Regions from separate parts of the Homo sapiens genome. Here regions 1 and 2 are each linked to region 3. The links are contacts of gene promoters, found by promoter capture Hi-C in human tissues and cell types (Jung and others, 2019). All regions are on one chromosome and are shown on one strand. The core of a region is centred on a gene start or on the middle of the fragment in contact, and the rest is flanking DNA. Distances in the headings are between cores, read along the strand shown. Region 1 has its middle 38 kb from the start of CSF3R. Region 2 has its middle 32 kb from the start of RRAGC. Region 3 holds the start of GNL2 (G protein nucleolar 2).

What was found. Contacts are between HindIII fragments. The study calls those that stand out against the background at their distance.
Region 1: a fragment that was not itself captured here is called in contact with the fragment with the promoter of GNL2 in region 3 in 1 of the 25 tissues and cell types used here (heart left ventricle).
Region 2: a contact is called between a fragment that was not itself captured here and the fragment with the promoter of GNL2 in region 3, in 1 of the 25 tissues and cell types used here (liver).

The regions. Positions count from the first base shown.
Region 1 is chr1:36,519,617-36,522,685 of GRCh38, forward strand. No RefSeq gene overlaps it. Among named protein-coding and RNA genes, the nearest start is that of CSF3R, 38 kb to the left of the region's middle. The HindIII fragment of the contact is 7,915 bases long and covers 1-3,069 here.
Region 2 is chr1:38,826,157-38,829,696 of GRCh38, forward strand. No RefSeq gene overlaps it. Among named protein-coding and RNA genes, the nearest start is that of RRAGC, 32 kb to the right of the region's middle. The HindIII fragment of the contact is 5,006 bases long and covers 1-3,540 here.
Region 3 is chr1:37,594,272-37,597,401 of GRCh38, forward strand. GNL2 (G protein nucleolar 2) reads right to left here and starts at 1,666. Exons shown (of 16, transcript NM_013285.3): 1 at 1,488-1,666. The coding sequence starts at 1,551. RefSeq lists enhancers at 1,165-1,224, 1,395-1,584. The HindIII fragment of the contact is 8,299 bases long and covers 1-2,715 here.

The DNA of each region.
Region 1 (3,069 bases), core at 498-2,997, 1.1 Mb before region 3:
AGTTCAGTTCTCAACCACGACTCTATAAAGCTTTTCTTCACTGGAAAGAGAAAAGGAAGAAGGCAGGGAGAGGGCGAGAATGTGCACATAGGAAGATGTGAACACGTCTAATGCGTGTCCCTGGGCTGGACTGTGTGTGGTACACAGCTGCAAGTGTCCTGCGTGTACTTGGCTGTAGTTTCATGTATCCACACCTTCATTACCCACCTACCCACTCATGTTCATCCATCTGTCGGCCCGTCCATCCATCATCTGTTTTTTTTTTTTGAAATAGGGTCTCACTCTGTCTCCCAAGCTGGAGTGCAGTGGTGCAGTCTTGGCTATCTGCAACCTCTGCCTCCCAGGTTCAAGCGATTCTCCTGCCTCAGTCTCCCGAGTAGCTGGGACTATAGGCGTGCATCCCCACACCCGGCTAATTTTTGTACTTTTAGTAGAGACGGTGTTTCACCATATTGGCCAGGCTGTTCACGAACTCCTGACCTCATGTGATTCGCCCGCCTCGGCCCCCTGAAGTGCTGGGATTACAGGCGTGAGCCACTGTGCCCCAGCCCATCATCAGTTTTTAAGTGTGGGGTCACAGGTGTGTGGCTACTTCCAGGTGTGTCTGTGCACATGCATGCATAATTGGAATGTGTGTGATGGGTGTCAGGACATATTCAGATGTACAGACCTGTGACCGCCTCCCACCCCCTCTCCCAAGGCTCTTCCCCCAAACCTGAAAAGCCACAGGATGGAGGAAGAGGCCCAGCCTCAGCAGGCCTGCCTTGGTCCCTGGCTCCCCTCCGAGCCCCAGCGGAGAGTTAATTAAATCCCTTTCCCAACAAGGGTGGTAATTAGTGCTAATGGTTCGGCTTCCACTCAGAGGCTGGAGAGGTTCCTGCTCCGTGTCTGTGTGTGTATGTGTGTTAGGGGGTGGGTAGCAGGGCCTTCTCAGTTCCAGAAACTTATGGGGTGTGGAGAGGGGCTTCTGAGAACTCCCCAGTCTTTTCCTGCTCCTGTCTCCTGATCTTACGGGCTCCAGGAGGCTGGGAGTGTGGTGGGTCTCCCGCCAGCCTGCCTGGGAAGAACCTGGTTGTGGTGCCCTTAGCTTGAGGCCTGTGGCTCTCTAGGAATCTGTTTGTGACTGAGGGTGTGCTTCTGTGTGTGTGTGTGTTTGTGTCTGTGCGCGTGCACAAGGGACACTCTGAACCATGCTGTGTGCATATAAATGACCATATATATAACAGTGATATATGAATGGTGCCCCCTGGAATTGTGCAATGTGGTAGCCCTGATTCACAGACCCCAAGTTGGCATGTCCATGATGTGTGCAATGACTCTGTGTTTCTGGGTGTCCTCTGTGTGTTTCGAGGTGTACCTGAAGGTGGGTGCCAGTGAGTGTGGGCCTATGTGTGTTTACATGTGACAAAATGCAAGGAGCAGCAGGGCCGCTGGCTTCTGGGGCCTGACTGACACCCCTTGCAAATAAATGTGACAATGAAATACAGTCCTGGAATTGCTTTGGATGCTCCGTCAAGCAGGCGACGCAGAATAGGTGAAGCTGTAAAGTGTTCCCTGGGGAGCTGTGTGGCTGAGTGACAGCCCCGTGCTGGCTCCTGCCTCTCTGCCTGGCTCTCCCTTGTGAGACCCTGGGGCTGAAGACACTCATCCTGACCACAGCCTGGAAGACTCGGGAGAACCGGCTTCCACAGCCTGTGAGGAGTGAAGGGCAGAGGGGACCTGGCAGGGCTCCATCCCTTCACCATTGTCTCATCGCTCTCTTCAGGTGGAGTGCCCAGAGTAGGGCTGTGTCCCATCCCCGTCATATGCACTCAGACTGGGCTCTCTCAGGACAGGGTCCTGTCTCCCCCCTCAGACTGGGCTGTCTCAGGACAGGGCCCTGTCTCCTCCCTCAGACTGGGATCTCTCAGGAAAGGGCCCTGTCTCCCCTCTCAGACTGGACTCTCTCAGGAAAGGGCCCTGTCTCCCCCCTCAGACTGGGCTGTCTCAGGACAGGGCCCTGTCTCCTCCCTCAGACTGGGATCTCTCAGGAAAGGGCCCTGTCTCCCCTCTCAGACTGGACTCTCTCAGGAAAGGGCCCTGTCTCCCTCCTCAGACTGGGCTCTCTCAGGACAGGGCCCTGTCTCCTCCCTCAGACTGGGCTCTCTTAGGAAAGGGCCCTGTCTCCCCTCTCAGACTGGGCTCTCTCAGGACAGGGCCATGTCTCCTCCCTCAGACTGGGCTCTCTCAGGACAGGGACCTGTCTCCCTTCTCAGACTGGGCTCTCTCAGGACGGGGTCCTGTCTCCCCCCTCAGACCCGGCTCTCTCAGGACAGGGTCCTGTCTCCTCCCTCAGACTGGGCTCTCTCAGGACAGGGTCCTGTCTTCCCCCTCAGACTGGGCTCTCTCAGGACAGGGTCCTGTCTCCTCCCTCAGACTGGGCTCTCTCACGACAGGGTCCTGTCTCCTCCCTCAGACTGGGCTCTCTCAGGACAGGGCCCTGTCTCCCCCCTCAGACTGGGCTTTCTCAGGACAGGGCCCTGTCTCCCCCCTCAGACTGGGTCTCCAGAGGGCAGAGTTCTGCCTTCCTCTCCGGGGCTCCCTTGAGTGGGGATGTTTCTCCTAAGATTGGGAGACCGCTCAAGAGAGGGCCGAGTCTCCCTGTGAGGCCCGAGCCCCTGAGCACCCTCCGCTTGGTTTATGCGTGTATCGCACACTCATGCATGCATATCTGGCTGCAGATTTGGAGGTTGCAGAGCTGTCTGCATGAGCCTTAGCTCTGGAGACCTGGGTTCAAATCCCACACCTGCTAACTTCATTAGCCATGATCTCAGGGAGGTAGTAACAGCTTCCACAAAGTCAGGGCACTGCTTAGGGCTCTGGTTAGGGGCTGACAGGACACTTTTTTCTTTTTTTTTCAATCACAAAAGTGCCTTCTGCTCGTTAAGCCATGTGCCCTCCCAGGTGGCACCTCATTCTAATAGTTAGGCCAGGGGTGCCTTGTTAAATTCTCCCCAAATAGCAGGGCAGGCTACCATGGCCCTGCACAGAGGGTGTGGCGTGCCGTGGAAAGTGCTTGCTCAGTGCCCG
Region 2 (3,540 bases), core at 358-2,857, 1.2 Mb after region 3:
CCAACATGTTCATTTTAAGATCAATACTGTCATAACTATGTTGAAAAATTAAATTATTGTAACTTTATTTACATTTCTTAAAAGTACTGTGAAAATTATTCTTAACCAGGACCTAATCAATGTTAGAGTCTAAAAATATGCCACTCTGCATGAAGCTATAAAAAGATTAATGTACATTTTTTACAAGAAATTAGTAGCTTAATGAAGTGGATAAAAACGCTGTCACAATTTTTATTGGATCTAAATTGCATAGTAGTGGAGGTACAGTAAGTGCCTTCTACATAATGACATAATGAGTCATGACTGGTGCTGGAAGGCTAATTTGCCCTTAACTGACACAAAACCAGGGAATTAACATCCCAGTCGCTCTACGCCAATAGCAGATGCATTATTTCATTGCACAGCAGGGTTTTTAACTAAACTCTTAACTGTAGAAATATTGATCTATTCTTCTGTGAAATGATGAAATTGGAATTTTTTAAAAGGACTTCTTAAATTATGGCTGCTGCAGTGACATTTGCTTTCACAGAACCATGCCTGCCTCCAGAGCAGATGCAACAGGAGAAGTGAGGTTAGGCTCATACCTGTGTTTTAGGGTCTGCAGTCAGAGGAGAAAGAAAGAGGGGACTTTATATGAGAGTAAATGCTCGCATTAAGCCACTGTGAGGAAGTGACAGACCATCTACAGGTGCCCAATTTCTGCAGTGACAGTGGTTGAACATTGTCCCAGCCCATAAACTGGTTTACTTTGAAGATTATTTCATACTTGGAAGTTGTTTTGAATAGAGCATCACCAAAACAGTGATATTCAATCTAAGTCTCAAATAAAATTTTAGTGGTGAAAGGTAGAATGGAAAGTAGTTGAAGTAGCTAGAGACCCCTATAAGAGGCAAGTATAAAGTGAGAGATGCTGTCCTGTCCCAATTTCCATTTTGTCATTCATTCATTCATTCATTCATTCCTCTATTTATTGGGTACCTACAGAGTGCCAGGGATGGTTAAATACTATAACCTATGGTGACTAATTATTGCTTCTGTCAGATAGTGTAATGCAACATATTTCTCTGTTTAACCAATGAATCAAAATTCATTTGGCTTTGAAATTTTAACAATAACTAAATTTAAATTTGTACTAACCACAGATACTTTGAGCTGTCACAACCCAGGAATTTAGAAGAAAGAAGAACAATGTACTGACAAACAGCTATACATCTGCCACCTCTTCACCTCTTGTGTGTCTCTCTTTGACACTTTGGGTTAGCACACACACACACAAAAAGCAGCAGCAAAAATAATTCTTCGTGCTTGAGGAGCTGAGAAACCAAACCTATTTAAGTCAATTGAACAAGCCTGCAATATGTCACATGACCTAGGCGTAGGCACACAGAGTAGCTAGAGGTAGTTTGATCCAGCCTAGAAGCTGGTGGTTCTCAACACTAACTGACATTAAGCCACATGGGAACAGCCTTATTTACTTATAATCATGCACCACATAATGACAATTTGCTCAACCATGGACCACACATACTACAGTGGTACCATATGATTTTATTTTTACTGTACCTTTTCTATGTTTAGATACGCAAATACTTAACCATTGTGTTGTAATTGCCTACAGTATTCAGTAAGTAACATGCTGTACAGGTTTGTAGCCTAGGAGCAATAGGCTACCCCCTATAGCCTAGGTATGTAGGAAGCTGTACCATTTCGGTTTGTGCAAGCACATCCTGTGATGTTCACACAGTGCTGAAATTGCCTAACATCACATTTCTCCGAATGTATCCCTGTCACTAAGCGGCACATGGCTATAGTTTGGGATGGGCCTGGTATCACTATTTTTTTTTATACTCACCCCAAGTGGTTCTAGTGTGCAACTATGGTTAAGAACCACTATAGACACGTAATAAAACAACAACAGAAACTGCACAGACCACGCTCAGAGGACTGGAAGAGCTGATCAGGCTCTGACGGAGAGCTGCAGCCAGGCCAGGTGAGAGTGCACAAGATGGCACTTGGATACTTTGCAGACTGCAGTCAATAAACTCGGGTCCCTGCTCTCAGTCTAAGACCATTTTCTACGACATATTAAAACCAATAAACACCTCCTCCTCCTATCCCCTTCAATTTTTAAAGGATTTTTAAAAATGCATATATGTATATTGTTAATTATAAAAAGGATACATATTCATTCACTGTAGAAAAATTGGAAAACACTGTTAATATGGTTTTAAAAAAGTAATGAGATGTTTCGAATCTATATTATTTTAAAGTACAAGAATCAATCTATTTAAGAACATCCTAAAATTGATGGCTAAAACATGTATGAAAGATCCCGTTCTTGTATTCTTATCAACATTGAATATCATCCTTTGAAAAAAATACCCATTTGATAAAGAGAAAGGGAAGCTTATTATTTTAGTGTTCATTTCTTCTATTATTAGTGAGGTTTTATGGGTTTTCATGGTTTTGGCCTCTTCTACTTCGTGTCACACACTAATATCTTTCCCTCATTTTGTTTTAGAATGTATTTTTTACTGATTTGTAAAATTGTATAAAAAATATTAACTTTCAGGCTGGGCGCAGTGGCTCATGCCTGTAATCCCAGCACTTTGGGAGGCCAAGGTGGGTGGATCATGAGGTCAGGAGTTTGAGACCAGCCTGGCCAGCATGGTGAAACCCCGTCTCTACTAAAAATACAAAAAATTAGCCAGGCATGGTGGCGGGTGCCTGTAATCCCAGCTACTTGGGAGGCTGAGGCAAAAAAATCACTTGAACCCGGGAGGTGGAGGTTGCAGTGAGCTGAGATCGTGCCATTGCACTCTAGCCTGGGCAATGAGAGTGAAACTCCATCTCAAAAAAAAAAAATTAACTTTCTCTATTATACATAATAAGCATATTTCCTAGTTTCTCTTGTTTAATTTAATAGTACGTTTTGACATAAACAATCTGTTCATTCTAGGTGTGTAAAGTCACACACACACCAGAATTTGTTGTTAAATCACCTCTAATGTTTATCCTCCTTATTCTCTTGATGTGTTGATATGTGTAGGGCTTGGAGTCAGAAGGTCAGCACTCATTGGCTTACCAGCTGCGTGATTTAGGGCAAGCCACTTCACTTCTCTGAGACTCCGTTCTCCCCCATCTGCATCCTAACTTTTGTCAGGTTGAAATTCAGTCAGCACTATAATGGCAAGGACTTTGCTCTCTTGTTCACTGATAGATCCTGGGAACCTAGAACACAGCCTTGCATCCAGCAAGCACTCACTAAGGATTTGTTGAATGAATGAATAAGCATCTGGCTTGGACCCCAGCCTCACTGTCACCCACAGCAAGCCCAGCAACCACTGCCCCTGAGCAGCCTTAAACGGATCACAAGTTGTGTCTCCCAGTCATGTTGTTTACATTTTTCCCATTCTTACCCAGCACAGTGAAGCCTGTACTGAGTGTATACTATGAAGCCAGCCCTGTGCCAGGCACCCCTACTGCATAAAAAAGAGGACTGGCAAATACACAGACTCTGCCCTTCAGCCTAGTGATTGC
Region 3 (3,130 bases), core at 416-2,915:
TGATCACCATCTATGGTCTTAACCACGAAGATACCTACCTCTGTGTCTCAGTTTAACAAATATTGAGTGCCTGCTCCATGCAAGGCACCATGGAGACTATAATTTTGATATATGTGTTCTTACTTTCTTAATGTTTGATTTTTGTTTAATCAACACAGCAATTCTTGCCTTACATCTCAAAGAGAAAGAGAAGGACAAACGAATAGGGTAATACTAGCCTAGCTTCTCATTTTGGGAGCCCTTTATTTACCTATTTATTCATTTATTCATTATTATTATCTTTTTTTTGAGACAGAGTCGTGCTCTGTCACCCAGGCTGGAGTGCAGTGTCGCGATCTCAGCTCACTACAACCTCCACCTCCCCGGTTCATGCAATTCTTCCACCTCAGCCTCCCGAGTAGCTGGGATTACGGGCATCCGCCATCATGCCCGGCTAATCTTTGTATTTTTGTAGAGAGGGGGTTTCATCATGTTGGTCAGGCTGGTCTTGAACTCCTGACCTCGGGTGATCCGACCGCCTCGGCCTCCCAAAGTGCTGGGATTACAGGCGTGAGCCACCACACCTGGCCAGGAGCCCCTTAAATCACCTGTCTGGTCCTGAAGTGATACAGTAGAAGACAGGCTGAAACCACAGCCCATTGGCTCTCCTAACAGTCTCTAACAGTAGAAACTGGCGGCTCTACTACTACTCACTAACTGTTGCAATTATGACAGGCCACTTCCTGTATTTTGATTCAGTCTCTTCACCTGTAAAATCATAATCTCTAAGGGCCTTTTGGGGTCTAACATTCTGAGATTCCAGTTTGTGCAAAGTGAATAATTTATTATCAATCCGGAATAAACATTCAACTTGCATTAAAATTGTCAAAAATTCTAAACCATATTTTAAAACAAAGTTTTATTAATTAAACCTGAATGGAAGGAACTCTCCCATAGGATGTCTTGTTAATCGTACAGGTGGAACCTCGCCAAAACTTACACACATCTCCTAAACAGCCTTACTGCAATGATCATACTGACTTCTTTGTAGGGTTCTCTAAGCACTTTACCAGATAGAATAATTCCAAGGGCCAAAACTATAAGCCCTTTCTCATTTTAAAGGTCAAAGCTAAGGTGGCAGGCAAGTATGATCACGTGTAAAAGGCCCGAAGGGTCAACCTACACCATTTTTAATCTGACTTTCTCTGCATCTCTCAACTGGAGAGGACCCAAGGCTGTCAGCCTGAGTGTTCACTTTCCTTGACTTCAGACCAGTTGACTACACTTTGGCCTGCCAGGCGTGCACTGAGCCCTCCTCAGTTCCCCCCTGAGAAGAAACCACCACAAATATTGCTTTCCTTTTTCCCTTTTCATCCCCAACAGCCACCCCGCTCGTAGTCATTCTAAGCAATGCCACTCGAGTAACCCTCCTTCCCCTCCAGTGCTCCTCGGAGCCCTTCCCTATACTTCCTCCAAGCTCCACCCTCGATCAGCCCTGCCGCCTGTACCTGGGTTTGTGCTGGCCTTGGACGGGTTGATGGTGCTCCGTCCTTTGTACTTGGGCTTCACCATCTTGGCGACGAGACCGGGACCGGAGTGCGAGGTCCGGCTTACGTGGTGAAACAAACTTTTATGTTCCCAAGCCCGGCCGAAGACACCCGCCTGAACCACGCCGGACCACGTGTGCACGACGTACGTCACTTCCGCTCGCGTCCCTCTCGGCCTCAGAGCGACTTCCTGTGAACGCGCGGCGCGCGCCGTCACCCTCCTGGCTCCGCCCCCGCTCCAGCCGCCTAGGCGTCGCCCTGCGTGGAGCCCCAGCCCGCTCCAGCCCTAGCAACCGCCAAGCTGCCCGTTCATAGCAACCGCCTAGTTAACCTGAACGCGCGGCCAGAGCTCCCAGTTGGGTCCACCTCCGAATAAAGAAGCTTCTTCCCAGGCCAGTGGCACAAGCTTAAGTTTGTCTTCTGAATTTGTCTTCTAAGTCCTTCCAAAAGTTGCCGACCACACAGCAGCCAAATATCCGTTAGGAGGTGTCATTCTCTTCCTTACAACTCCAGTGGCTTATCATCACTCTTAGAATGAGAGGTAGGGGAAGGGAGAAGGGAGAAACAGACAGAGACAGAGATTGATTCAAACTTTTTGCCATCCCTACAGGATTCTGTGATCTGGCCCCTGCCTGCCTATTTATCTAATCTCATGTGTACGTCCCTCCCTCTGGTTATTCTGACATTTACACTGGATATTCTCTCTGCCTGAATCACTCTTTCCCAGAATCTTTGCATAGCTGTCATTCAATCCTAAGCTCAAATATCACCTATTGGTAGGCCTGCAAGAATTAGCAAATAGAAATACAGGACACCAAATTAAATTAGAATTTCAGAGAAAAAAAATGAATACTTTTCTTTAGTACACCTCCAACAGTGCCTGGAAAATACTTAGACTAAAAAAGTATTCATCGTTTGCCTGAAATTCAAATGTAACTGTACGTTCTGTATTTTATCTGGTGACCCTTCCTGCTGTGAGAACTCATTCCTGTCTAATTTGTCTAAATCAGCCACCTTTCACCCTTTCACAGTTATTCTGTTACAGTATTCTGTTTTATTTATTTCATGGCATTTATCACTAGTTGAATTTTTTTTACAAGTTTATTGGCTGCTTCCCCCAAACTAGAATGTAAGATTCTTAAAAGCAGGGACCTTGTTAATTTGTTCACTGCTGTGTCTTTAAGACTTGAATAGCATCTGAAACAAAGGACTCAAAAAATATTCATTAAGTGAAAGAATGAGTAGATGGGAATGTCTCTTGCCTTGAGGATGAAGGAAGGCATTAAGACCCAGTGATTTCTGTTTCTACTAGCCAGAATAAAGTGTCTAGATGCCAGTGTTTGAACCAAGAAGCCCTCTCTCTTTTTACAATTTATTTTTTGTTTGTTTGTTTTTGTTTTTGTTTTTTGAGACGGAGTCTCGCTCTTGTTGCCCAGGCTGGAGTGCAGTGGCCCGGTCTCGGTTCACTGCAACCTCCACCTCCCGGGTTCAAGCAATTCTCCTGCCTCAGCCTCCCAAGTAGCTGAGATTACAGGCGCATGGTATCATGCCCAGCTAATTTTTGTATTTTTAGTAGAGACGGGCTTTCACCACATTGGCCAGGC